Regions from separate parts of the Homo sapiens genome. Here regions 2, 3, 4, 5, 6 and 7 are each linked to region 1. Evidence: promoter capture Hi-C in 16 types of primary human blood cells and fetal thymus (Javierre and others, 2016). All regions are on one chromosome and are shown on one strand. The core of a region is centred on a gene start or on the middle of the fragment in contact, and the rest is flanking DNA. Distances in the headings are between cores, read along the strand shown.

Evidence for each region. Contacts are between HindIII fragments. The CHiCAGO score rates a contact against its expected background, and 5 or more counts as called.
Region 2: a fragment that was not itself captured here is called in contact with the fragment with the promoter of RMND5B in region 1 in 1 of 17 cell types (naive B cells); the score reaches 5.6 in naive B cells.
Region 3: a fragment that was not itself captured here is called in contact with the fragment with the promoter of RMND5B in region 1 in 1 of 17 cell types (naive B cells); the score reaches 5.3 in naive B cells.
Region 4: a contact is called between the fragment with the promoter of PRR7 here and the fragment with the promoter of RMND5B in region 1, in 1 of 17 cell types (naive B cells). The highest score is 5.1, in naive B cells.
Region 5: a fragment that was not itself captured here is called in contact with the fragment with the promoter of RMND5B in region 1 in 1 of 17 cell types (naive B cells); the score reaches 5.0 in naive B cells.
Region 6: a contact is called between the fragment with the promoter of PDLIM7 here and the fragment with the promoter of RMND5B in region 1, in 4 of 17 cell types (erythroblasts, total B cells, megakaryocytes and 1 more). The highest score is 11.1, in erythroblasts.
Region 7: a fragment that was not itself captured here is called in contact with the fragment with the promoter of RMND5B in region 1 in 7 of 17 cell types (total CD4 T cells, naive CD4 T cells, naive CD8 T cells and 4 more); the score reaches 8.9 in total CD4 T cells.

Annotation. Positions count from the first base shown.
Region 1 is chr5:178,129,210-178,132,712 of GRCh38, forward strand. It overlaps RMND5B (required for meiotic nuclear division 5 homolog B), which reads left to right and starts at 1,805. Exons shown (of 11, transcript NM_022762.5): 1 at 1,805-1,845; 2 at 2,028-2,167. RefSeq lists enhancers at 327-978, 979-1,630, 2,909-3,438 and a silencer at 1,362-1,951. The HindIII fragment of the contact is 11,712 bases long and covers 106-3,503 here.
Region 2 is chr5:177,319,175-177,322,677 of GRCh38, forward strand. No RefSeq gene overlaps it. Among named protein-coding and RNA genes, the nearest start is that of MXD3, 9.0 kb to the left of the region's middle. RefSeq lists enhancers at 764-1,265, 1,266-1,765. The HindIII fragment of the contact is 1,134 bases long and covers 1,007-2,140 here.
Region 3 is chr5:177,368,737-177,372,239 of GRCh38, forward strand. It overlaps RGS14 (regulator of G protein signaling 14), which reads left to right. Exons shown (of 15, transcript NM_006480.5): 9 at 1-184; 10 at 1,855-1,928; 11 at 2,169-2,295; 12 at 2,429-2,510; 13 at 2,614-2,660; 14 at 2,739-2,853; 15 at 3,137-3,503. The coding sequence ends at 3,339. Among named protein-coding and RNA genes, the nearest start is that of RGS14, 13 kb to the left of the region's middle. RefSeq lists enhancers at 596-1,447, 996-1,065. The HindIII fragment of the contact is 3,760 bases long and covers 1-3,503 here.
Region 4 is chr5:177,445,290-177,448,792 of GRCh38, forward strand. It overlaps PRR7 (proline rich 7, synaptic), which reads left to right and starts at 1,525. Exons shown (of 4, transcript NM_030567.5): 1 at 1,525-1,671. It overlaps PRR7-AS1 (PRR7 antisense RNA 1), which reads right to left and starts at 2,655. Exons shown (of 3, transcript NR_038916.1): 1 at 2,355-2,655. RefSeq lists a silencer at 1,150-2,239 and an enhancer at 2,182-2,810. The HindIII fragment of the contact is 1,481 bases long and covers 890-2,370 here.
Region 5 is chr5:177,465,806-177,469,308 of GRCh38, forward strand. It overlaps DBN1 (drebrin 1), which reads right to left. Exons shown (of 15, transcript NM_001363541.2): 2 at 3,039-3,094; 3 at 2,303-2,415; 4 at 1,938-2,012; 5 at 1,676-1,822; 6 at 1,450-1,527; 7 at 1,106-1,257; 8 at 967-1,030. Among named protein-coding and RNA genes, the nearest start is that of DBN1, 6.1 kb to the right of the region's middle. RefSeq lists enhancers at 1,295-1,840, 2,387-2,932, 2,933-3,478. The HindIII fragment of the contact is 2,300 bases long and covers 753-3,052 here.
Region 6 is chr5:177,496,024-177,499,526 of GRCh38, forward strand. PDLIM7 (PDZ and LIM domain 7) reads right to left here and starts at 1,581. Exons shown (of 13, transcript NM_005451.5): 1 at 1,505-1,581; 2 at 394-500. The coding sequence starts at 489. RefSeq lists enhancers at 233-974, 2,187-2,236, 2,455-3,194 and silencers at 777-856, 1,267-1,976. The HindIII fragment of the contact is 22,050 bases long and covers 1-3,503 here.
Region 7 is chr5:177,609,191-177,612,693 of GRCh38, forward strand. B4GALT7 (beta-1,4-galactosyltransferase 7) reads left to right here. Exons shown (of 6, transcript NM_007255.3): 6 at 350-1,140. The coding sequence ends at 505. Among named protein-coding and RNA genes, the nearest start is that of B4GALT7, 11 kb to the left of the region's middle. The HindIII fragment of the contact is 576 bases long and covers 1,380-1,955 here.

The DNA of each region.
Region 1 (3,503 bases), core at 555-3,054:
ACATGGCAAAATCCCCTCTCTACTAAAAATACAAAAATTAGCCGGGCATGGTGGAGCATGTCTGTAATCTGTTACTCATGGAGCTGAGGCAGGACAATCGCTCGAAGCTTGGAGGTGGAGGTTGCAGTGAACCGAGATCACACCACTGCACTCCAGCCTGGGCAACAGAGCAAGACTTCATCTCAAAAAAAGAAAAAGAAAATTCAGTCTGGACCTGGGTTTGGGGTCAGTGCCTGTTCCCTCCTCCTTCCTAACCCTCACCCTTCCTCCTTAGGGCAGATGGGCAGCTCCCATCTTCTCCCCTTCCCCCGTTCCCCAGGACAGCGACCAACACAGGGCGGCAGGGTAGGGCTGGACCCCCTCCTCCGCAGAACTGAATTCTGTTGAATACCCAGTGGGCAGATTAAGTTCGGGCTAAGGGGACCAGAAAGGCTGGGACAGGAAAGGAGTTTTCTTTTCTTTTCTTTTTTTTTTTTTTGAGACGGAGTCTCGCTCTGTCGCCTAGGCTGGAGTGCAATGGCGCGATCTCGGCTCACTGCAACCTCCGCCTCTCGGGTTCAAACGATTCTCCTGCCTCAGTCTCCCGAGTAGCTAGGATCATGGGACTACAGGCGCCTGCCACCATTCCCGGCTAATTTTTGTATTTTTAGTACAGACGGGGTTTCACCATATTGGACAGGCTGGTCTCGAACTCCTGACCTTATGTTCCGCCCGCCTCAGCCTCCCAAAGTGCTGGGATTACAGGCGTGAGCCGCCCGGCCCGGAGTTTTCTATTCTTTTTTTTTGAGACGGAGTCTCGCTCTGTCGCCCAGGCTGGAGTGCAGTGGCGCCGTCTCGGCTCACTCCGAGCTCCGCCTCCCGGGTTCACGACATTCTCCTGCCTCAGCCTCCCGAGTGGCTGGGACTACAGGCGCCCCCCACCTCGCCCGGCCAATTTTTTGTATTTTTAGTAGAGACGGGGTTTCACCGTGTTAGCCAGGATGGTCTCGATCTCCTGACCTCCTGATCCGCCCGCCTCGGCCTCCCAAAGTGCTGGGATTACAGGCGTGAGCCGCCGCGCCCGGCCTGGAGTTTTCTTTTTTTTTTTAAGCATCACTTCATATTTCAAGAGCTCTCAGTTCTCCTGAGATTTCTAGGCTCTGTCCAGGATCCCTAAGCCTGTTCACAGTCCTACTTGAAGTTTCTAATCTTTCTTTTCTCATTAACCAAAACTGGAGAGAGGAAAAAGCCCATCATTTTCCCTGGACAGCAGCGCCTACTGGGAGTTTCACCCGCATTAACATGCAAACGACAGGCAAACTCCTAGTCATCCTTCCAAAGACCCTGCTCCACAGCCCTGCCGAGGCCGGTGCGCACCTAGCCCAGCCACTGCCCCTCACGGCCCCCGCGCCGCCCTCACTGAGCAGGGCGGGCAGCGCTGTAAGCGTAACCACTTGGGGCTTGGGGCTTCTGACCCGGGAGTCGGGTGCTGGGTTGAGTGCGAGGCCGACGCCTCTGCCGGGTGGGGAACCCGCCCGCCGGCGAGGAGCGGTCGCGGCCAGGGGCTTCCGCCGACTGGGAGGCCCGGGGCCGGGCCGGAGGGACTCGGAACCTGGAAACGACCAGGCGCGACCCCCAGAGGACTACAGGCGCGGCTTTTCTGGCCGCCGCCCGGTTCCCGCGGGCGACTCCACTCGGCATGCGCGGCGGGGAGCCTCGGCGGTGAGGCGCAAAGCCGCGGGCTCGTGGGACGGCCACCCCTCCGCAAAACCGCCAATGGGCGGGCCCGGGCCGCCGATCGCCCGCCGCGGCTTCCGGTTCCGATGACAGTGGCGCCGGAAGCCGGGGCCGGGGCTGCGGGGCGAGGTGAGAGCGGGCGGGCTTGGGAGCCGGCAGGTGCGGGCCGAGGGCGGGCACAGCGGCCGGCGGAGCTGAGGCGCGCGGCGGGGAAAGCTCGGCCGGCCTCCCGGGCCCCAGCCTTCTCCAGAACCCCTGCTACCCACGACTAAGCCCCGAACAATCTGCCCTTGGGCTTGTTCTCTTCGCAGTTGTCGGCCCTGGGCCGGGAGCTGGAGTCCCAGACTCATAGGTCCCGGCCCAGCCCCCGAAGAGCCGCCTCAGCCGGGGGGAGTTGCTCGGACTCAAACGTCCAGTCCTCGTGCGACCGCGCTGGGTCGGAAGTGAGCAGGTGCGCACCGGGCTCGGCAGGGCTATGGAGCAGGGTCTTTGGAAGGATGACTAGGAGTTTGCCTGTCGTTTGCATGTTAATGCGGGTGAAACTCCCAGTAGGCGCTGCTGTCCAGGGAAAATGATGGGCTTTTTCCTCCCTCCAGTTTTGGTTAATGAGAAAAGAAAGATTAGAAACTTCAAGTAGGACTGTATAGTAAAAAAAAAAAAAAAATGGAGGAGGGCGATATGACACGGTAACTGGTGTGAGGGTGGGGCGGAGGGGTCAGTATTAGATACTGTGGTCTAGCAGAGCATCTCTGAGGACGGGACATTTGCGTTGAGACCCAAATTAGGAGGCAGGCTTAGGAAGATACGGGAAGAGAGTGGTCCAGGCAGCGGGAACAGCCAGTGTGAAGGCCCTAGGGCAGAAATCAACTGAGAGTATAGTCAAGGAACAGAAAGCAAGCTAGTGTGGCTAAAGTATGGTAAGAAAGGGAAAGAGTGGTAGGAGATGAGGTCGGATAATTGGGGTTTGGTCACATAGAGTCTGTAGGTCAGAGAGAGGAATGTGGAGTTTTTTCTAAGTACAGTGGAAATCTTTTGGTTTTAAGCAGAGGAGTGACATGTAGGGTAGAGAGTGGATGGAGGTCGCGGCTGCAAAAGCATAAGAATTGGCTGGGCACGGTGGTTCACGCCCGTAATTCCAGCACTTTGGGAGGCTGAGACTGGCAGACGGCTTGAGCTCAGCACTTCAAGACCAACCTGGCCAACATGGTGAAACCCTGTCGCTCCAAAAAATTAGGCTGGGCGCAGTGGCTCACGCTTGTAACCCCAGCACTTTGGGAGGCCAAGGCGGGAGGATCACTTGAGGCCAGGAGTTCAAGACCAGCCTGGCCAACATGGTGAAACCCCGTCTCTACTAAAAATACAAAATTTAGCCGGGTGTGGTGGCAGGTGTCTGTAATTCCAGCTACTTGGGAGGCTGAGGCAGGAGAATCGCTTGAAACTGGGAAGCAAAGGTTGCAATGAGCCAAGATCGTGCCACTGTACTCCAGCCTGGGCGACAGAGTAAGACTCTGTCTCAAAAACAAACAACAAAAAAATTAGCCAGGTGTGGTGGGGAGAGAGGGGAAGAATAGGGACAAAAGGGAATACATAAATAAACACAAAGGAGAAAAGGCCCTGCATGGACCACTTACATGTGTCATGAACTCAGGAGTGTTCATGGTGGGACTACATGGTGCACCTGTAGTCCCAGCTTCTTGGGGTGGGGGGCTGAGGTGGGAGGATCACTTGAGCCCAGGAGGTCGAGGCTGCAGTGAGCCCTGATTGTACCACAGCACTCTGGCCTGGGA
Region 2 (3,503 bases), core at 324-2,823, 810 kb before region 1:
GGGATTACAGGCCGGCCTCCCTCTAACATTTTAAAATCTTCCAAACTAAGGTGAGTAAATCAGATTTGTTTAGGGCCCTTCAATAGTGGGGGACCAGCAGAAGCTCCCATCTGTCCACCCAAGGACTTCCAAGGGTGTTGGAGATGACCTTTGTTTTGACCCCATCAATGCCTACTTTATTCAGTCCATTTCATTAAGAACCCTTTAAAGATTCCATCCTGCTGGGATGAGTATCTTGACTCTTCCCTTTGTTTTCCCCACTCTCTTGTGAATCATTCTAACCATCTTCACTGTTGTTTCAGCATAATTTTCCCCCTCAAAAGTGGCCCTGGGAATAGCTGTAGCTCAGACCAGCCACAATCCAAGCTTGGCCCAATCTCAGGATCTGCCCTATCACCATCTTTTGCCTTCATTGTTGCTACAGAGAACAATAGGATGGTATATTTAGCTTGTTTCTAGTTACTTTGCATTTCCTTATACGTCCAGTGAACTAACTCCTTGGGAGTTGCATCCATCATTTCTAAAATTCATTATTAATTTTTGCCTCCACTAACTGATCACAGCACAGCTGCATTTCCATACCACAGTGAACTCATGGCCCTCCAGGAATCAAAGGTTCATCATACTCCATCCTCTCATCCAATTCCTAGAGATAGTAACTCACTCACTCACCTGCAAGCGTGCCGTGCCTTTCATATTCATACTAACCAATCCAGAGCCCATACCTTCCAACCACCTCCTTTACTGGGCTCTTACACGCTGCACCACTATCCCCCAGAGACTGGACAACTAGGGACATCCTACCCCAAACCCATTGAAATTATTCAAGCTAGGCAATCCTAGACCTGCTCACTCTGCCTCTCAGGTTCCTTCCTAAGCAAACCACAATAAAGGCTCTTGCCCCACAGTTCCCCTCCCTCCCTCTGCCCCCGACCAACACTGGTGCTTCCCCGTGTGGCCCGTGTTAGTGTGCGGTGCCGCCTGTTTCTAGGGAACTGTGAGTATAAGCTTCTTCCCACCATGGCAGTCATTTCTGTGTCTGTTACATCATATCTAAGGACAACAAATCCAAGGTGTCCTTACAACAACTGGCGCAGTGAGCAGGGTGGTTTGATGCCAGATGGAGATGGTATGTCCTCAAACTGCTCTTGGCTTACTAACTGGATCCACCAGGCAGTGGCCATTGCCTGGAAGGCAGCCCTGGTCATTTGTGCGCCCCCTTGATGGCTGGTGCACTGTGTGGTGTGTTGTGGGTGCTGCTGTGGATTCCCAACCTGAGGGCGGTGCTCGGGAAGCTGAGTCCTCCCGGAGCTGCTGCCCAGGCTAGAGTGTTCAGTGCCTGGGACTCAGGCCACAGGGCACTCGTCTTTCTCCGTGCTGGTGGAGCACCCAGACGCCAGAACAGAACACCTGGAGGTATACGGAAAACTGACCACATCGGTTTCTTGAAAAAGTCCTTCCATGGCCGGGCATGGTGGCTCACGCCTGTAATCCCAGCACTCTGGGAGGCCAAAGCAGGTGGATCACCTAAGGTCGGGAGTTTGATACCAGCCTGAGTAACATGGAGAAACCTCGTCTCTACTAAAAATACAAAATTAGCCGGGTGTGGTGGCACATGCCTGTAATCCCAGCTACTCGGGAGGCTGAGGCAGGAGAATCGCTTGAACCCAGGAGGCGGAGGTTGCAATGAGCCAAGACTGTGCCATTGCACTAAAGCCTAGGCAACAAGAGCAAGACTCCATCTCAAAAAAGAAAAGGAGAGAAAAGGTCCTTCCAAAGACAACAAGAGCAACTACCCTGCTAGCGTCATGGGATGAGTCTAACCCACTGACCAGGCAGCACTGGCAAGCGGTGGGGCCAGCCATGTCGGTCACTTGTATGCAAGTGCTCAGTGTCTGGGATGTTATATGCTCCAGCAGGCACTTGATAAACCACTTCCCCTTTTCCTTCTGGCCTTTGCTGAGTCAAAAGTTTCAGCCTGTTCTCTGGAGTATGGGAAGAGTACTCCACCTGAACGCCTGCATGTGTAGCGTAGGCTGTTCCCACGGTCAGTGTCAGGGTGTCCTCTTCAAGGGATCCGGGCACCCTGCAAATGTTCTTGTTCCAGCCACAAACCTCTCTTCCTTTAGCCAGGTCCTGAAGCTTTCCTCTTTTAGTGTGGGGCTTTCATTATGATTTATTCTTAAGTCCGAATGTTATTTGGTAGTATGTTTTTAGTTTCCAGATACAAAGGATTTTTTCAGTTATCTTTTGGTTGCTGATTTCCATTTATATTCTCCATATTCCTTTTTTTCTTTTCTTTTTTTTTTTTTTTTTTTTTTTTTTTGAGACAGAGCCTTACTCTGTTGCCCAGGCTGGAGTGCAGTGGCACGATCTCAGCTCACTGCAACCTCCGCCTCCCAGGTTCAAGTGATTCTCCTGCCTCAGCCTCCCGAGTAGCTGGGACTACAGGCACGCACCACCATGCCCGTCTAATTTTGTATTTTTTTAATTTTTTTTTTTTTTTCAGACAGAGTCTCGCTCTGTCACCAGGCTAGAGTGCAGTGGCACGATCTCGGCTCACTGCAACCTCTGCCTCCCAGGTTCAAGCCATTCTCCGGCTTCAGCCTCCCAAGTAGCTGGGACTACAGGCACACGCCACCACACCCAGCTAATTTTTTTGTATTTTTAGTAGAGACGGGGTTTCAACATGTTGGCCAAGATGGTCTCGATCTCAACTTCGTGATCCGCCTGCCTCGGCCTCCCAAAGTACTGGGATTACAGGCATGAGCCATCATGCCGGGCCCATTCTCTTTAAAAATCTCCTCTTTATAAATCTCTTTATAAATCTCCATCTCTGTGTTTCCTCCCAAGGTCCTCTGATCTTTGATCTGATCTTCAAATTAGTTGATCTTCAACTAATTTGGTGAATCCATTTTGTTATCAACCCCTATATTGAGTCCTTTATGTCAACTAAAAAGTTGCATATCCGTGTCTCCAGGTGGTTCTAACTGCTTATTCTTCCCTCATGTTTCCAACAGCATGCCTGGTCTCTGAGGAAACACTTCACTCCACAGGCCTATGAGCTTGGCTTCCTCAGTCATATACACACATAATATATATCTCATATACACAGAAATTATATAAAATTGTCTATGTAATTTTTGTTGTTATATTAATTACATATAATTATATACAGTTTTTTATATATGTGTGTGTGTGTGTGTGTGTGTGTGTGTGTATATATATATATATATATATTTTTTTTTTTTTTTTTTTTTTTTTTTTTTTTTTGAGACAGAGTCTCGCTCTGTCACCAGGCTGGAGTGCAGTGGTACAATCTCGGCTCACTGCAACCTCTGCCTCCCAGGTTCAAGTGATTCTCCTGCCTCAGCCTCCCGGGTAGCTGGGATTACAGGCGCGCACCACCAGGCCCGGCTAATTTTTGTATTTTTAGTAGAGAGGGGGTTTCACCATGTTGGCCAGGCTGGTCTCGAACTCCTGACCTCAGGTGATCCACCCAC
Region 3 (3,503 bases), core at 532-3,031, 760 kb before region 1:
GAGCACGGAGGGTGAAAGTGAAAGCCGGCCAGGGAAGTACTGCTGTGTGTACCTGCCCGATGGCACAGCCTCCTTGGCCCTGGCCAGACCTGGCCTCACCATCCGAGACATGCTGGCAGGGATCTGTGAGAAACGAGGCCTCTCTCTACCTGACATCAAGGTCTACCTGGTGGGCAATGAACAGGTGGGAACGTGACCTGGCTCCAACTCTAACCTCCTTCCTGATCCTGACCCCAACTCCATTTCTGTCTCTGCTCAGTCATGGCTCCAACCCCAATTCAAGTTCTAAACCCAACTCCAAAGCACCCTCAGCACCAACTTTCACTCACTCAGACATCCACCCACCCCCCACCTCATGTCCTTCCAGGTTTCCACCTTCATCCATCATCCTATTGTGGTGACCTTAGGGAGGTAAAACTGGAGAGAACCACTGTTGGAGCTGGGGTTTGCCCCTCATCATTCCCAGAGTCCAGACTCCCATCCCCACAGACCCATCCTGGAAATGGCCATCCGTGGGGTGCCCTCACCTCCTTAGCCTCTAGGGGCACCCAAGTGCACCTAACCAATGAACTTTTTCCTTTAGGTGCAAACTAGCTTAAACTTTAAAGAAGACCTAGGGGAAAACTGGCTTTAAAGGAAACCATTCAGTCAGGGGAATCTCAAGGAAGAATGCTACCTTCCAGGGGGCCATCGGGATTTCATTTACCTAGTAGACAAGTCCTAAGGCCTTGCCAGGTGTGTGGGGGAGAGGAACCTAGATCTGGGGCTGTCCTCCTGGCCCACAGGCTGAAAGTAAGCCAAGCAGGGAGTGATCAGGGAGGAGGAAGAGTGAAAACTCCAGAGAAGGTCTCTTGGGAGAGGGTAGGCATTTCTGGCTGGTGTCCGGAAGGCTTCATGGAAGAAGCAGCAGTAGATGTGGATGGGCAGAGCTGTGGGGGAGGATATTCCAGGCAGAGGGAACAGCTTAGGCAAAGGCCTGCAGGTGGGTACTTGCGGGGCATGTTCAGGGGCCTGGAGTGCAGGGGTGCGAGGGCAGTAGTGGGAGGCATTTTGCCCACTCTTCTCAGGCCGCTAGGGCGGCTGCCAGCAGCCCAGATGGGCTTTCATACATGCTAAATATAACTTCCTCACCCACACTCCACCTGCTCCTGCAGCACAGCATAAGCCTACTGCCTGGGAGATGCTGCCCCCAACCCCCACATCAGGCTGGAGCAGGCAGTGGGGCCTCTGAAGGTGGTCATCACGAGAGTTACTGTTTATGTACCTACTGTGTGCCAGGCATTGTGCCAGATGCTTCACATCCTCTGGTTTCACAGCAGTTTTGAGGGTGGGCCCTTTTTGAATGAGGAAACAAGAAGTGTCCTTAGTAGCGGGGAATGGAGAGAAGTGGACAAATGTCAAAAATGGGACCAGGCCAGGGTGGTTGGTCAAAGGTGGGTGGTGAGGGAGGAAATGCTTCCAGCTGGTCTGGTCGGATTTCACACACCTGAGGGACACGAGACAGCTGTCCTGGAGGCAGAGCCTGTCCTGGCACAGAAAGAGTAGGCCAGAGATCCCGGATCTAGGCCTGCCCCTTATCATTTCATGCCAGCAGCTACGTTTCTCGTAATTTCTGTCCTTTCCCAAGAATGTCCAGCATTCTTGCCACTTTTCTCCCTGGCCTTGGCTTTCCTGGGCTTGGACTCCAGCTTGGTACCTTAACCCATTTGCTCCCCTACAGCTCTTCCACCCTCCATCCCTTCCTCTAGGAAGCCCAGTGGTGGCCATGGGAGGGCGTGAAGTTGTTCTCAGACCCACAGGGATGGCTGGGGGTTGGGGGAGGGACTCTTAGACCCTGCCTGGCATCCACAGAAGGCCCTGGTCCTGGATCAGGACTGCACCGTGCTGGCGGATCAGGAAGTGCGGCTGGAAAACAGGATCACCTTCGAGTGAGTGTCCTGCCCCCAAGTCTGGGTCCCAGGTCCTGACGCTCCCTTCAGGCCCTGTTCTAGCTACCTGGCTCCCCAGGCCCCGCCCCTCGTGCTAGCCCCGCCCCTGGGACAAACCCCGCCCCCTACAAGCCAGTCCCACCTTCTGCAGTTCAAGCTCCACCCCCTCGCGTTTGTCCTGGGAAGGGTTTGGCGGGGGGCCGGCCCTCCGGCCCTCTGCTGCCCGAGGGTTCCTCGCAGGCTGGAGCTGACGGCGCTGGAGCGCGTGGTACGAATCTCAGCCAAGCCCACCAAGCGGCTGCAGGAGGCGCTGCAGCCCATTCTGGAGAAGCACGGCTTGAGCCCGCTAGAGGTGGTGCTGCACCGGGTGAGCTTCCGGGCCGCGGGGCGGGGCGGGGCGGGGCCGGGCCGGGGCCGGGGCCGGGGCCGGGGCCGGGGCCGGGGCCGGGGCCGGGGCCGGGCGGAGGCCTGTACCGCGGGCTGCTGACCTCTCCCCACAGCCAGGCGAGAAACAGCCTCTGGATCTGGGGAAGCTAGTGAGCTCGGTGGCGGCCCAGAGACTGGTTTTGGACACTCTTCCAGGTAGGGGACGCTGGCCTCGGGGCTTGATCTGGAACAGCTGTGGCCCAGGAGGAAGGGGGTCCAGGTGGGAGGCAAACACTAACTGTGGCCCTCTCTGCTGCAGGTGTGAAGATCTCCAAAGCCCGTGACAAATCTCCCTGCCGCAGCCAGGTGAGCGAAAGGCGAGTGGCCTCTTCCACCCTCTGCTTCTCCCCTCCCGATTTTGGCTCTGACCCCAAATTCTCGCAGGGCTGCCCACCTAGAACTCAGGATAAGGCCACCCATCCCCCTCCAGCGTCCCCCAGTTCTCTGGTGAAGGTGCCCAGTAGTGCCACTGGAAAGCGGCAGACCTGTGACATCGAAGGTACATGGTGGATGAGCTGGGGATCAGAAAGACTAGGGCAGTGGGGTTGGGGACCATTCAGGGTGGCATCAGAGAGCCTTGAGCTAAGGCAGGGGGCTGGGTGCCACTGGGCGTGGAACAGGAAGGATGGGGGTTGGGGGGTCAAAGGGGCTGGAACAGGGGGCCGCAGGCCATTGGTGCTGGGGCCAGGGAGGCAGTGGCCACAGTAAGGCAGTGGGACTATCGTGGGCTGGCATATAGGCAGGTCTGCTGGGGGGACCCTCATGCTGTGGCTTGCCTCCAGGCCTGGTGGAGCTGCTGAACCGGGTGCAGAGCAGCGGGGCCCACGACCAGAGGGGCCTTCTGAGGAAAGAGGACCTGGTACTTCCAGAATTTCTGCAGCTGCCCGCCCAAGGGCCCAGCTCCGAGGAGACCCCACCACAGACCAAATCAGCAGCCCAGCCCATCGGGGGATCCTTGAACTCCACCACCGACTCAGCCCTCTGACAGCTACCCAACAGTCCAGGACAGCTGCATGGCACCCGGCGGGCCGAGCATGCCATGGGTCCGCTCTGCATGCCCTGTCTGTGCCATGAGTGTCCCTGGCCCCTTCCTGCCATGGGCAGGCCCGCAGGAAGAGCCGGTAGGGGTGGAAAGGGGACTCAGATGAG
Region 4 (3,503 bases), core at 275-2,774, 680 kb before region 1:
GTTCACAGTTTCACCAGGATGGCACCCGTGGGGCAGTGATTCCCCCATTGAAATCAGGGTGCCTGTATACAAAGAAAAGGGAGCGGGTACTGGGAGGCCATTCCCTTTGCATAAGGAGCACATATCCTCTCCCTTAACACACAGGCACTTAGATTGGTTCACTGATAGAGACTCAGCCCAAATGAGTCCAAAAAGAATCATTCATGGAGTTGTTTGCTTGTATTTTGCTCAAATGATGGGGAAGGAATTGGGGTTCCGTTTTCCTCCAGGGATAGATGGCAGGATATGAGCCTAGGGCTGTTGGGGTTGTCCTCGCTACTTCTTGGGGTGAGCTTGCCTGAGAGTGATGCAAACAGAAGCAGATACGTGCCTGACACCATTGCGGGAACACCTGGAAGCAACTGTGACCAAAGCTAGAATCTACCCTGGGACTTGCCAGTTGCATGAACCAGTCCCCTTTGAGCTCAAAGCTTTTTCTTTTCTTTCTCTTTTTCTTTCTTTTCTTTCTTTCCTTTCTTCTTTCTTTCTCTTTTATTTTTCTTTCTTTCTGTCCTTTCTCTTTCTTCTTTCTCTTTTTTTTTTTGAGACAGGGTCTCACCCCCTCCCTTAGGCTGGAGTGCGGTGGCGTGATCTCGGCTCACTGCAACCTCTGCCTCCCGGATTCAAGCGATTCTCCACAGGCGTGCAGATTTTTTTTTTTTTTTGGTAGAGACGGGGTACAGCTCAAACCTATTTGTTTGGGAGTTCTGTCACTTCAACCCCAAATGTTCCAGCTAATATGGTGGTGGAGGGGTTTTTGGCAAATCATCTTAAGTGCAGTAGAGAAGTTGGACGAAAAACAGCCCAGTTAAGAGGCCGATGGACAGCCAACTTCAGAGTGGCCTCTGCAAGCTTGGACCTCGGGGTAGACAGTGGGGCGCTCTCTAGGGGTCATCTGTTCCCTGCTGGGGTAGGGGGGAGGCATGTCCACGGAGGCCAGGGCTGTGGGTTCGGCACTAGGTCCTCCTCCCCGTGGCTTCCTAGTAGGCATGTGGTGGTGTACGCCTGCTGGGCACCTAGCGAGAGGGGTCGTGAGTTGGGAGGGAGCCACGTTGGGGTGCCTGCCTGCTCGGGGGCCCCTGCCCACTGCGTGTGCGCAGCGCCTGTCAGGATGTGACGGGGACCTGGACATGTGTGTGCTCTCCGAGCTGAGCTGTGTGCGCGTCCGGGTTCTCGACCTCAGCTGCCTGGCTGTGCATCCAGCGTGCACGACCGGTGTGGCCTGGGCTCCAGCCTGGAGTGTGGACCGGGTCGGCCGGCGTGTGCCTCCCCTGTGAGGGTGCCCTGGCGGGTGTGAGCCCGGCGGGCTGGAGAACCGGGTCTCGGCGCCGCAGGTGGGTGACCGTCCTCCCCCTCCTTCCCTCCGGGGGCAGCCTCCTCGCGGCGTGTGGCTGGGGGTGCGGGGCCCTCTGCCGGCTGCCGCGCGCGCGCACGCCGGGCTCAGCACCCGCCGTGTACGCGCCCGTGCGCGCGCCCCGCGCCTCCAGCCCAGCGCTCGGAGCCGCTTTCGCTGCCACTGTCTGCTCCCCCGGGCCGCCGCCGCCTCCCCCCGCAGGCCCGGGGCTCTGTCCGCTGGGCCCGCGCTGCTCGCCCCGAGCCAGGAGAACGAGCTCGAGGAGGATGCCTGGGCCCGTGAGTACCGCGGCGGCTGCGGGCCGGGCGGGCACGGAGCGCGGGCGGAAGATGGTCCCAGGACTGAGCCCTTCCCCGCGGGCGGCTCAGCGCCCTGGCCCCGGGTCGCCGCCCCGGTCCCCCGCCCGGGCCGCGAGCAGCCCCTCCCCCAGTCCACACCGGAGGGAGGGAGAGCGCCAGTGAGCGAGGGAGCCGGAACGGGGCGCGAGCCGCCACCAGTTCGCTTGGAAACGGTTGCCACAGCAACGGGGTTGCGCTCCCCGGCAACACGACTGCGGGGCGGCGACGCCCCCTCCCCCTCCCTCCCCCCTCCCCCGACGCGGGCCCACAGCCCGGGGGTGCAGGGGGAGAGGGGTGCGCGGCGGGGGCATGTCGCCCCTCTGGCCCGGCTGGGTGTGCCTGCCTCCACAGCCCGTCGAGGGTGGGGGTGGGGGCGAACGGCCGTGGGCACGAGCTGGCTCCCACGTGGCTGCAGTCGTCGCAGCAGGGCTCCTGGGGTGGCTGCAAACGTGGGGGCGGCCCAGCCCCTGGGCTTGTCACGGGAGGAGGAGGCATGGAGGCTGGCGCTGGGGTCTTTGCCCATAGACCCCCCACCCACCCACCCACCGCCGCCACCACCTAATCGCGCCGGCCCTGGACATGGCCTGAGCCGAGCTGGGTTCCCCAGGGGCGACGTTTCTTACCAGGGTAGAGGAGCGAAGCTTGCATCCCTCCTCCTCCTCACGGCCGAGGCACGTGCCAAACCGGGCATGGGCCCGCGGTGAGTCTCTGCTCCGTGTTCCTAGCCACCATTCTCCAGGGAGGGGTGGAAGCAGAGTGGGCAGGAGCAGAGGAAAGGATATTGCTGACCCAGGGAAGCTGAAGCCCAGGCCAAATGGGAGCGACCCAGCCCATTGTCTGGATCACAAGTGCCCCTTTCTTGTCTGAGCACAATGCCCCAACTGTACTGAGTAGCATGCAGGTTGGCCGGCAGGGAGGCACGCGCCACATGGAGGTGCCTGGTCCGCCAGGGGAGCTCCTCTGGGAGGAGAATGGCCTCTGACTCAGAGGAAATGACCTCTGGCTCCCCTCCCAACCTCCCCTCAGCGGGCATCATGCTGGAGAGAGAAATGGCCCTCCTGCCAGCTCTCCCAGGCCTGACTCAGCAGATGCCAGCCCCGACCGCGGGCTTCAGATCCAGGATCCCAGCGACCACAACCGTCCTTGGGTTTCCTTTCCCATCCGGGGAGGCATCCTAGAGGTGACTGGCATCTGGGGCATTGGAGGCCTTGGCATAAGATGCCCTTAGATGGGTGGTGCCCTGGAGGTCAGGCCTGAGTCTCCTGCAGGCAGGGGCGCCTGGGGAATTACTCACGGGTGCCTTTCATTCCCTTCCTGCTCTGTGAGACCTGTGTTGAGTGCTCTGCATCCATTATCTCCTAATTTTTTTTTACAACAGTTGCGCAAGGTAAGTTTATTATCCCCATTTTAGAGATGAAGACTCTAAAGGGAGGCTCAGGGAGGTGAGTGACTTGCCCAAGGTCACACTACCAGTAAGTGGCAGAGCTGAGTCTACACTGCAGGCTTCTCTGGGGGCAAAGCTCCTCTCTGCCTGCTAGCTAACTTCTCTTGTAACCCAGGAGAAGAACTGTAGAGCCTTCTTCCTTCACTTTCCTCCAGTGAGGACATTCCCTGTCTTTCGGGTCTTGGTACATTTTTCCTTCTTCCAGCTAAATCAGCCACATTCTTGCTCCCCCAGATGCATTATAGGATGGGGCCAGCTTTCTCCCTCCCTTCTTCACTTCCTCCCTCCCTCCATTTTCTCCGGTGAGACCAAGCAGCAAAGGGCTGCC
Region 5 (3,503 bases), core at 653-3,152, 660 kb before region 1:
GATCACGCCATTGCATTCTACCCTGGGCGACAGAGTGAGACTCCATCTCAAAAAAAAAAAAAAAAAATACATGAATCAACTTATGAAAAAAAGATCTTACCCAGCTCGTTCTCCACCATGTTCTTTATGTGGCAGGTGGCAGGTGTGTGTTGAATGAATGACTGAGGATGGAGCTTACCAGCCACACATCATCCCCACCCCATCCAAGGGCAGATGTGACTGGAGTGACTTAATGCTGCTGCCTGCAGGACTGTCTTGCCTCCTCTCTCTCAGCCTCCTGTGGGTGACTCCGGAGCCCGTTTGAGTCCCCACAGCCATGCATCTGCCCATTACAGTCCCAATCCAGATGAGTATCAACCCACCTCCCTTCCTGAACTGAGCCATGCTCAGTCCTGAATGACATTAGCTATTTCCAAAATACTAAATTCAAAGCATGGAGATGTGACTCTGCTGTGATTCTCAGGGACCAATCCACAGGACCTACGGGCCATTCCCAATGTGTGGAGATTCAGACAGTACCCCTGGAACAAAGGGGCTGCTCCCAGGGAGATGCTGCTCCCAAGGAGATGGTACACACTGCCTGCAGATGCTCAGCACTGGCCCAGGCTCACCCATGCCGCCTGCCTCACTCCTGTGGCCCCTCAGAGTGCAGAACAGTGTCTAATCGCCGAGAAACCCCAGGGCAGGGGAGGGGGAGCCTGGTCAGTGAGGGTCTGGGTCTAGATGGAGTTTCTCTTCCAATCTAGAGCACAAGCTTCTCCAAAGTAGTCTTTTTCCACGGCCAGAGGCCAGAGCCCCACGTGATGAGGTGCCAGGCCTCATGCTCCATGGCACCCTGTGCCCATGCAGCTCCCCAGAACAGCCACCACTGTCCCTGAGCCACTGATCTCCCCACAAGGCCCAGGAACACAGGGACCATTCTCACTTCCCTGACCCAGAGACCGGGAGCCTTGGCAAAGAACTTACAAAGATAGACTGCTCCTTCAACCGCCTCTTGGCCTCTTCCGCTTCTAAAGTCTGCTGTTTCCTCCTGGAACGATAAGCAGCCAGCACCCGTCAGGGTGCGCCCGGGGGCCCCTGGAGCGCTCCGGGCGGGCAGGCTCACCTGTGCTCCTCGATCTGCTGCTCCCGCTCCCGGTAGCGCCGCTCGCGCTCCTCTTGCTCCTGCCGCTCCTGCTCCATCCGCTCCTGCTCGAACCTGAGCCTCTCATCCAGGGCCTTCTTCCGCTCCTCCTCCTTCCGCAGCTCTTCTTCCTTCTGCAAGCCCCGGTGCGAACAAGGGTAGGCCCCGAGCCTAGGCGCCTGGACCCTGCCCCTCCAGCCCCTCCCTAACCCAGCGCTGGGGGCGGGGCACGTGGCATGGGCCATGCCACTGCAGTGAGGGACTCAGACCTGCCCCATGGGGTCCATGAGGGGTGGCTCAGCCAGGCCGGGCTCAGGGTTCCATACCTTGGCCTGCTCCCAGAACTGCTCTCGGTTAATCCGCTTCATTTCCACAGCTGCATCCGTCTTCTGGTAGGTGGTGCCCTGCAGTGTCGAAGGACCCAGCATAAGCAGGCTGAATGCCCCAGGAACCCCCGACACCTAAAGGGTGAGAGCTAAGAGGGACCGGGCAGGCCAGACTCGGGCACCAGGCCACGCAGGCAGAGCCCACGGGTGCCAAACACACACTAACCACGGGCTCTGCGTTCTCATCCTCTCGCAGCCGCAGTCGGTGCAGCACAGGGCTGGAGAGTCGCGCCAGCCCGTTAGAGAGCCGCTGCCCGATGGCACCCGCGTCTATGTCTTCCACGCTGCTGGCGTTCACGATCACGTCGACACCCTTCCGCAAGAAGACGGCAGTGCTCAGGCGGCACCATCCTCCCGCCATCCCCACCCCAGCACGCAGACCCTGGTGGCTGTCCCCACCCCCAAGAGCGCTGGCCCCTGACACGCACCTGGAAGAACTCCGCCACCTTAGCCACGTGGCTGGCACAAGCGCACTTGCGGGCATCAGGCACATCTTCGCCCACCTGCAAAGTACCCAGCAAAGAGGGGGTCAGGAAAGGACAAGGGGGGCCCTACACGATAGGGTGCATCTTCCCCGGGGTGGGAAGAGGGTGGGCTTCCCTCTCCACGGGTGTCAGAGGGCCGACGGGGAGGGCGACTGCTCTGGGCCTTCAGTTCCCTTCCCCAGCCCCGGCCGCATACCCAGTTGATGAGCAGCTCTGGGCCCTCAGCCCCCTTCCCCAGCCCCGGCCGCATACCCAGTTGATGAGCAGCTCTGGGCCCTCAGCCCCCTTCCCCAGCCCCGGCCGCATACCCAGTTGATGAGCACGTATTTTGGCAGAGCAGCTTGGGAGTCCTTGACACTGCAGAAGCCGTACATCACCTTCTGGTTCTCAAAGTGTCCCGAAAGCTCCTGCAAGCCCCCTTCTAGGGTAATCAGGAGAGTGTCAGGTCTCTCTGCCTCCTAAACCCTTCCCAAAAAGAGCCTGGAACTCAAAGCAAAGACTCCTCCAGGCCTCCACAGGCACCCCCAGGGGTCTTCTGGCCTCTGGGGTCTGTGGGTCCCAGTTTTGTGTTGGTATGTGTGGGGGTGGTGGCGCACAGGGATGTAGCTTTGCCTGTGACTCCTGCAGGGCCTGATTTGGGGGTAGGACTGAGGAAGTGTTTGTTCTTCACACTCAGGTCTCATTCTTCACACATCATCATGTCTCACCAGGTGCCAGTGCCCAGAGGCACAATCAAGCCTTCTGGCTCTGGGGAAGGCGGTGAATAGGGCCCTTCCCCCAAAGTGTCCCAGCTGTGTGGCTTCAGATAAGTCACTTTCCCTGTTGGAGGCTCAGCCTCAGAAGTCCAACATTCAACAAGGCTCTGAGATTCCTCCCCACCCTGGGGACACAGGGATGACTGGAGGAAGGACACCCGCCAGATCCAGACAAGTGTGGGGCTGCAGGGTGCAGGCAGGGAGGTGGCCTACAGCCAGGTGGGTGGGGAAGAAAACAACCAGGAGGAGGGGGTGGAGAAGGCGGCGAGGGAATGGCTGGAATTCCTACCTCCTGATGCTGCAAGCTTGAGGTCATCGGAGCCATCTTCATATGTGTACAGAGCCCTGGGGAGAGGGAGGGGTGGCTGTCAAACTGTCAGGGCCCAGGCCGCCAATTCTGGGTGGGGACGGCTCTGGGGAGGGAGAGGGACATGGAGTGGGTAGGACAGGAACGGGGAGGGCTCCTGCTGTAGCCATGACAACAGGGCCAGGCATCGGTTCAGGCGGGAGCCCAGCAGGGTACTGCTGGAGGCCTGGGTCAGGGGGGCGCAGGCAGTGAGGGGAGAAATTGCTGGCTGGTCGAGCTCAGTGCGCAGCATCCCGGCCCTGGCCCTGGCAGCCTACAACCCAGTGGAGCGGGTGTGTGATGGAGATTCCAAGGCGACGGTTCCTTGGTTACCGTTCCCTGGCTACCAGGATCCTCATCCCCCATTGGCTAGTGCCAGGAACTTACCTGGCACGTGCCTTGGTCCCC
Region 6 (3,503 bases), core at 331-2,830, 630 kb before region 1:
GGGCGGCAGTGAGGCTGAAGTGAAATCCTATAGTCACAGTGTCCTGCCTGGGGCCTGGCTCCAAGCATTGCCACCTCAAGTTTAGATACCTCCTGAAATGTTAGGCTCCCATCCTGCACAATGAGCCTCCCTCCAGCCCTCAGAGGTGGCCACAGGAGCTTGGGAGAACAGCATCGGGTACAGTGCAGGGCTGGAGAAGCCTGGGTGCTCCCTCCCAGTATCCACCTCATTGGGAGTCCTTGTGGCAGGCAGGTACCACTACATCTCCGGACCTAGACATCTCCTGGCCTGCTGGCCCCTGACCAGCTCCTGTTAGGACTCCCCCCATCACCCTCTGGAGACCTAAGCACCGAAAGACCGCTGGGGGAGCCCCCTCCCCAAACCTAGGCTCACCCGGGAAATGGAGAGGGGCACATTGAAGTCCTTGCCCCCTTGCAGCCGGAAGCCCCAAGGTGCTGGCCCCTCCAGCACTACTTTGAAGGAATCCATGATGCCGGCTCCTGAGAGGAGAGAAGAGAAGGTGAGTGGCCAGCATGGTGGGCGGGCAGGCAGGCAGGCCGGGCCAGCTCAGGATACCAGCCTTGGACAGGGGCCAGGCAGGCACGGGCAGCCCCTGAGCACGCCCAAGCCATAGGAGGCAGGTATTTTGTCAGGCTGGCCTGGGCTGCTGGCTGGCGGACCTCACTTTGGAAAGACAGGAGCAGCCCCCCTCCCCTTGGGACTGGAACGGTGAGGGGTGCCTGAATCCAGGCTTGAGGTTCTTTGCAACCAGGGGTGGGCCGAGGGACTAAACTGGCGCGGCCTCCCCCCAAGCCAGCCTGGAGCCTCGGGCGGCCGGGTGAGTCAGGGGCCGGCTCTCCTCTCCCCCGCCCCCAGGTCCCGGCAGGCAGGCCGCGGCTGGAGCCTGCTCGGACTATATAAGGCGTGTAAGCTGACACTGTGCGGAGAGCCAGCGGAGGGAGCACACGGGGGCTTGGGACGCGAGGGGGGGGGGAGGGGAGGGGAGGGGAGGGGAGGGGAGGGAGGCGGCTGCAGCGGATCCTCCTAGCCATTCCGGGACCAGTCGAGGCTGCTGGGAGCCAGGGCGGGACCCCTGGGTGCTGAAGAAGGGGAAGGCGGGAGTGGGGTGCGGCCCCTGTGGAGACAGATGGGGGCTGGGACCCTCAAGCATAGCTTGGAGGGGGATCCTTCCCCGAGCCCAGTGGGGGGTGGTGCCTCCCACACAGAACTGCTCCCACACCGACGTGACTCAGTTTCCCCTTAGTCCCCCGCCCGGGCCCCATGCATTAGACTGGCCCCGGCCGCAGGAAGCGGCGCAGGCGCCAATCGGCCCCGCCGCAGCCGGCTTAGCGGCAGGAAGGCGGGGGCGGGGGCGGAGGCAGGGGCCAGGGCCAGCGGGAGGAAGCACAGCCTGGACCACGACCCCCAGTGCCCTTTGTGGTCCTCAGCAGGCCCCGGGCGCCCGCCTGGTGCAGCCCAAGACGCCCCGCGCGGTCGTCGATACCTGCTTGGCCCGGCCAGGGCGCTGCTCTGCGTCGGGCTCCAGGGAGCCTCGTTGGGATCGGCCGCCAGTGTTCTGACCCCGCCCCCACAGCCACCCTCCACTTTGAGCGCGCGGACGGGGGCGGGGCACCAGGCCACGCCCTCGTCGCGACCACGCCCACTAGACTTTCTCCGCTGGTGGAAAGCCCCACCCAGCTCTTCCGTCCTGCCCAATCACCAAGTCCCGTCGGGCTTAGAGCTGAGAGGCCTCGCCGACCCGGGCCCTGCAACGGGGCGGAGTCGGGAGGGGGCCGGGGCTGCGGGTCGCCTCCTTAGGGAAGCGCTGCCTCGCCCAGTCCCTCGCACCGCCCGCTGGCGGAGGGAGAGGAAAGCGGACCTTCAAACCAGACCGACCTGGGACATAGTAGTCTCTGAACCTTAGTTTGCTACTCCGAAAAATGGGACGATCATACTCGCCTCGCAGGGCTGCCGCGAGTGTCGGTATCGTAGGCGCAACCCTCGGGGACTGCAGAATCTGTAAATCAGAGGGGCTGGGGGAGACAAGTTGAGGGGGACAGGGGCGTTTAAAGCTAGAGTTGCGCAACGCTCTGCCGAAGGCAGGAAAACAGGGCAGGAGCGGACGCCGGATGTCCCTGCAACCCCGAGCCGACCCGCGCACCGTCGGAAGCGCCGCGTCCCGCTCCACCTTGGCCAGAGCGGACTGCGCCGCCTGGGAGGCGTCCTCAGAGTCCCGGCCCCGCGTTCAGCCCAGGCACTAGGGCCGGCGGCACGGACACTGAGCACATGCGGGTGTCGGGGTGAGGGAAGGGGCGTCCACCCTCCACTCGCTTGGTGGTCCCGGCCCATCACCTCCTCCTAGGACAGAGTCGCTGCAGTTCTCCCCTCTCCATCCACAGTCATCACACCCACCCTGTTCTGCACAAACCGCCGTGAGAGTTCTCGTCGTTAAAGACCTTCTCTTGACCCCACATCCCTCTCCAGCTACTACCCTTTAATTCTCCTCTCGAGAGTAAAATTCCTCCAGGGAGTTGTCTGTTTATCGCGTCTCCACTTGCTTTCCTTCAGTTATCTCTTGAAGCCATGCCAGGCGGGCTCTTGTCCGCACCCGTCCCCTGAGATCTCTCTTCTCAAGGTCCCCTGTGGCCTGGAGGCCATGGGGCCATGGAATCCGTGGTGGTTAAGTTTCATCCTGCCCTGCCTAGGGGCAGCACTGGTCCAGGTTGATCCTTTTCCGCGAAACACCCTTTTTCCCTGGCTTCACAGCTTCCCCCTGCCCCACTGGCCCCTCCTTCCCATCCTCCTCTGCCTCTGGCCTTGGCCATCTGATGTCGCCTCTCTTTATGCTCACCCCCTGAGACCCCGTACTGTCCTGTGGCTTTCAACACCACCTATATGCAAAGGCATCCCATGTTTCATGGCCAGCCTGACCTCTCCCCAGGAACTCTAACTCCATTATCCAAAACCCTGCCTAGATGTTTACTAGATCAGGGGTCCCCAACTCCCCGTTTGTGGCCTGTTAGGAACTGGGCTGCACAGCAGAAGGTGAGCAGCGGCAAGCCAGAGAAGCTGAGTGCAGCGGCAGCATTAGACTCCCATAGGAGCGTGAACCCTATTGTGAACTGTGCATGCGAGGGATCTAGGTTGCTCATTCCTTATGAGAATCTAATGATAAATGGGCCGGGTGCAGTGGTTCACGCCTGTAACCCCAGCACTTTGGGAGGTTGAGGCGGGGGAGGATCACTTGAGGTCAGGAGTTCGAGACCATCCTGGCCAATATGGTGAAACCCCGTCTCTACTAAAAATACAAAAATTAGCTGGGCGTGGTGGCGCATATGCCTATAATCCCAGCTACTTGAGAGGCTGAGGCAGGAGAATGACTTGAACCTGGGCAGCAGAGGTTGTAGTGAGCCAAGATGGCTCCACTGCACTCCAGTGTGGGTGACAGAGCGAGACTCTATCTCAAAAAAAAAAAAAAAAAAAGAGTCTAATGATAAATGTAC
Region 7 (3,503 bases), core at 418-2,917, 520 kb before region 1:
ACCCTGGGCACTGTGGGTCAGCCCAGACCTCAGGGTCCATGCAGGCTGGCAGGGTGGGGTGGCGGAGGCGTAGCTGAAGGTGCCAGAATCCCAGCCACACCCGGGATGCAGGGATCCCACCCTCAAACAGCCCCTTCTCTAGGAGGCTTATGCATCCAACTGGAGATCCCGGCTCGCCTGCTTCCTAGTGGGGCACAGCCCTGGGCAAGAGGCTTCACTGCTTTGAGCTCTGGGTTCTTCCTCTCCAGTGGGGACCACAGGACCTCTGATGGCGAGGTTGTGTGGGGTCAGTGGGTAGCTGGCACCCATGCAGCCCTGAGTCCGTGCTCTTTCCTCTCTTCCTCCCCAGGAGCAGTTCAAGGTGGACAGGGAGGGAGGCCTGAACACTGTGAAGTACCATGTGGCTTCCCGCACTGCCCTGTCTGTGGGCGGGGCCCCCTGCACTGTCCTCAACATCATGTTGGACTGTGACAAGACCGCCACACCCTGGTGCACATTCAGCTGAGCTGGATGGACAGTGAGGAAGCCTGTACCTACAGGCCATATTGCTCAGGCTCAGGACAAGGCCTCAGGTCGTGGGCCCAGCTCTGACAGGATGTGGAGTGGCCAGGACCAAGACAGCAAGCTACGCAATTGCAGCCACCCGGCCGCCAAGGCAGGCTTGGGCTGGGCCAGGACACGTGGGGTGCCTGGGACGCTGCTTGCCATGCACAGTGATCAGAGAGAGGCTGGGGTGTGTCCTGTCCGGGACCCCCCCTGCCTTCCTGCTCACCCTACTCTGACCTCCTTCACGTGCCCAGGCCTGTGGGTAGTGGGGAGGGCTGAACAGGACAACCTCTCATCACCCCCACTTTTGTTCCTTCCTGCTGGGCTGCCTCGTGCAGAGACACAGTGTAGGGGCCATGCAGCTGGCGTAGGTGGCAGTTGGGCCTGGTGAGGGTTAGGACTTCAGAAACCAGAGCACAAGCCCCACAGAGGGGGAACAGCCAGCACCGCTCTAGCTGGTTGTTGCCATGCCGGAATGTGGGCCTAGTGTTGCCAGATCTTCTGATTTTTCGAAAGAAACTAGAATGCTGGATTCTTAAGTGATATCTTCTGATTTTTTAAATGATAGCACCTAAATGAAACTTTCAAAAAGTATGGCAGGCCAGACAAAATGTGTCGTGGACCGCTCACATGTCACTTTTGGCTGAGGGGCAAGGGGACGGGTGAGTTACAAGCTGGCAAGGAATTGGGGTGGGGCGGGGACGACAAGTCCAGGGGGGAGGAGAAGCCAAAGGTGTGAGGGTTCCTGTACTACCTCCACCCCACCAAGGCTTCTGGGCAGCCCCCGAATGCCCTTCTGAGCAGTCTTACCACCTTCAGGCTCTCTCTGGGTAAGCTTCCTCCGGCCTCACTGAGACACGGAGGAGGGAGAGTGGCTGAGGAGATTCACCCACAGGACTGGAGAGAGGCAGGCAGGGCACTCAGCCGGTGCCTCGGGTCATGGCTTGAGTGGGGAGGAGAAGGGGAGAAGTGGGAGGATCCCTGTGGTGTTCCCTCAGCACAGAGGGATTACAGTGGTCACTGAATGCCCAGGAGCAGTGAGAAGACATGAACTGGGGAGTGCTCTTGGGGGAATCACTTGGAGGGAAGCCCAGAGCCCATGAGAGTGGGAGGCAAGGGACCCTGCATGTAGGCCACTCCAAGGCATTTGGCTGCCAAAGATGCAAGGCAGAAGGCAGAGGAGACCATCAGGCCCCAGTAATGTGGGTTTGTTTTAACACCAGGACACCTGGAGTCCTGAAGGAAGGGATTCCTGAGCACCATCCCAGAGCTCAGGAAGGTGGAATCCACAGCTCTGGTTCAAAAGACTTCTCTGAGGATGATCAGGGCTGCTGTGTGCAGTTGTGTGGGTTGCGCACTGTGTAACCTGTGTATAAGCCGAGGGATTTAAGCAGAAAGGGCTGGGGTAAAGCTTCAGGTTCAGGTGTTTAGTCCAGGGTCTTTGTGATCCTAAATTGACCTTCCCCATCGATTCAGCCACACCCACTATTGTGATGGGCAGACAGGCCTCGACTCTAGTGCAGGGGTGGTGGAGAGGGGACTGTGCCAGTTCCCTGGACAATCCCAGCTGCTTCATCTTGGACTGACATGGACACCAGGCAGTAACACCAGCTCTTGGGAGTTGGTGGGAACAGGTGTAATATCAAAGCTCCCAGCTCTGCACTCTCCTGTCACATAGGAAGACCTCAGAAAATGGAGGTTCCTTCCTTTCCACCTGCACTGGGGGAGTGCAATGAGCAGAAGAAAAGCGAAGGTCCCTCCACCTTCTGAGATCAGCTGACACCTGAGCTTAGGTGCATCCCTAGCCCTGCAGCCTGTTGCTTCCCTTGACCGCCACCCCCACCTCCATCTTCAAGGCTGTGCTGGGCACTCCAGGCTGGGCCTGACGCGTTCCAAATCTGCAGCTCCCCTCACTCTGCATCCTGGGCCTCCACCACTCTCCAGGAGAGTGGGAGACGCCTGAGCCATGGGTGGCGAGAAGCGGCAGTCCTGTGCCGCCTCAGTGCCCCACTTGCCTCCTTCGTGGAATGGACTTGACATCCCTGCCTTGCTGGCCAGGGCGTGGCCGAAACCTACCCAGGATGTAGGAGCACCTGGCACAGCGCTTGGCCAGTGAGGCGGTGGTTGCAATAATAATAACCATCCCTTGTTGAACATTCACCAGATAACCAAATTCTCCACACCGCATTTCACTTAGGCCTCCCTACCTAAGAGCTGGGTCCTAATTCACTGGTTCTGTACATCAGGAAGGCAAAGCACAGACAGGCAAGTAGCTTGCCCAAGGTCGCAGAGCTGTAAGGGATGGGGGGCTGGGATTGGGAACCCCTGGAATCCACTTTCAGAGCCAGGTTTCTTCCCCTTTGCCCTGTACAGCAGGTGCCCATGAGCAGGTGTTCCTTCCCTACAGGCCTCCCTCCTCTCCCCTGCTGGAAAGGGCAGATGGGGAGGGCTGAGAGGAAAACAGGGGCATGGTGGAGATGCAGAGGATCTGCCTCAGGCTCCGCTGCCTCGAGGAAGACAGGGATTCTGCTGCTGGGTGCTGAGGAGCGCCGATGGGGCATTAGTGGGACCCAGAGTGTGGCACTGTAAATGAGAGCTGTGTGGAGTGCTTGGGGAAGGCTTCCCCGAGGAGGCAAAGTCTTGCTGGTGGAGAATTTGTCAGCAGGAAAGGGAAGGGATCATCATGTGCAAAGGCAGGCAGCCTGGAGCCAGCATGTGTGTCAGGTACCCAGGAGCAGCTGGAGTGTTCCTGGCACCCACGATACTGTGCAGAAGTGGGGAGGTGGGCAGCAGAGGGAAGGCTGGGGTGAGTCATGAGGATCTGTGAATGCCACACTAAGCAACTTGTACTTTATTCTAGGGGTGCAGGGGCTTTGAGAAGTTTCAAGCATGGGAGAACTTTTTTTGTTGTTCTTTTTGAGACAGGGCCTCTCTCACTCTGTGGCCAAGGCTCGAGT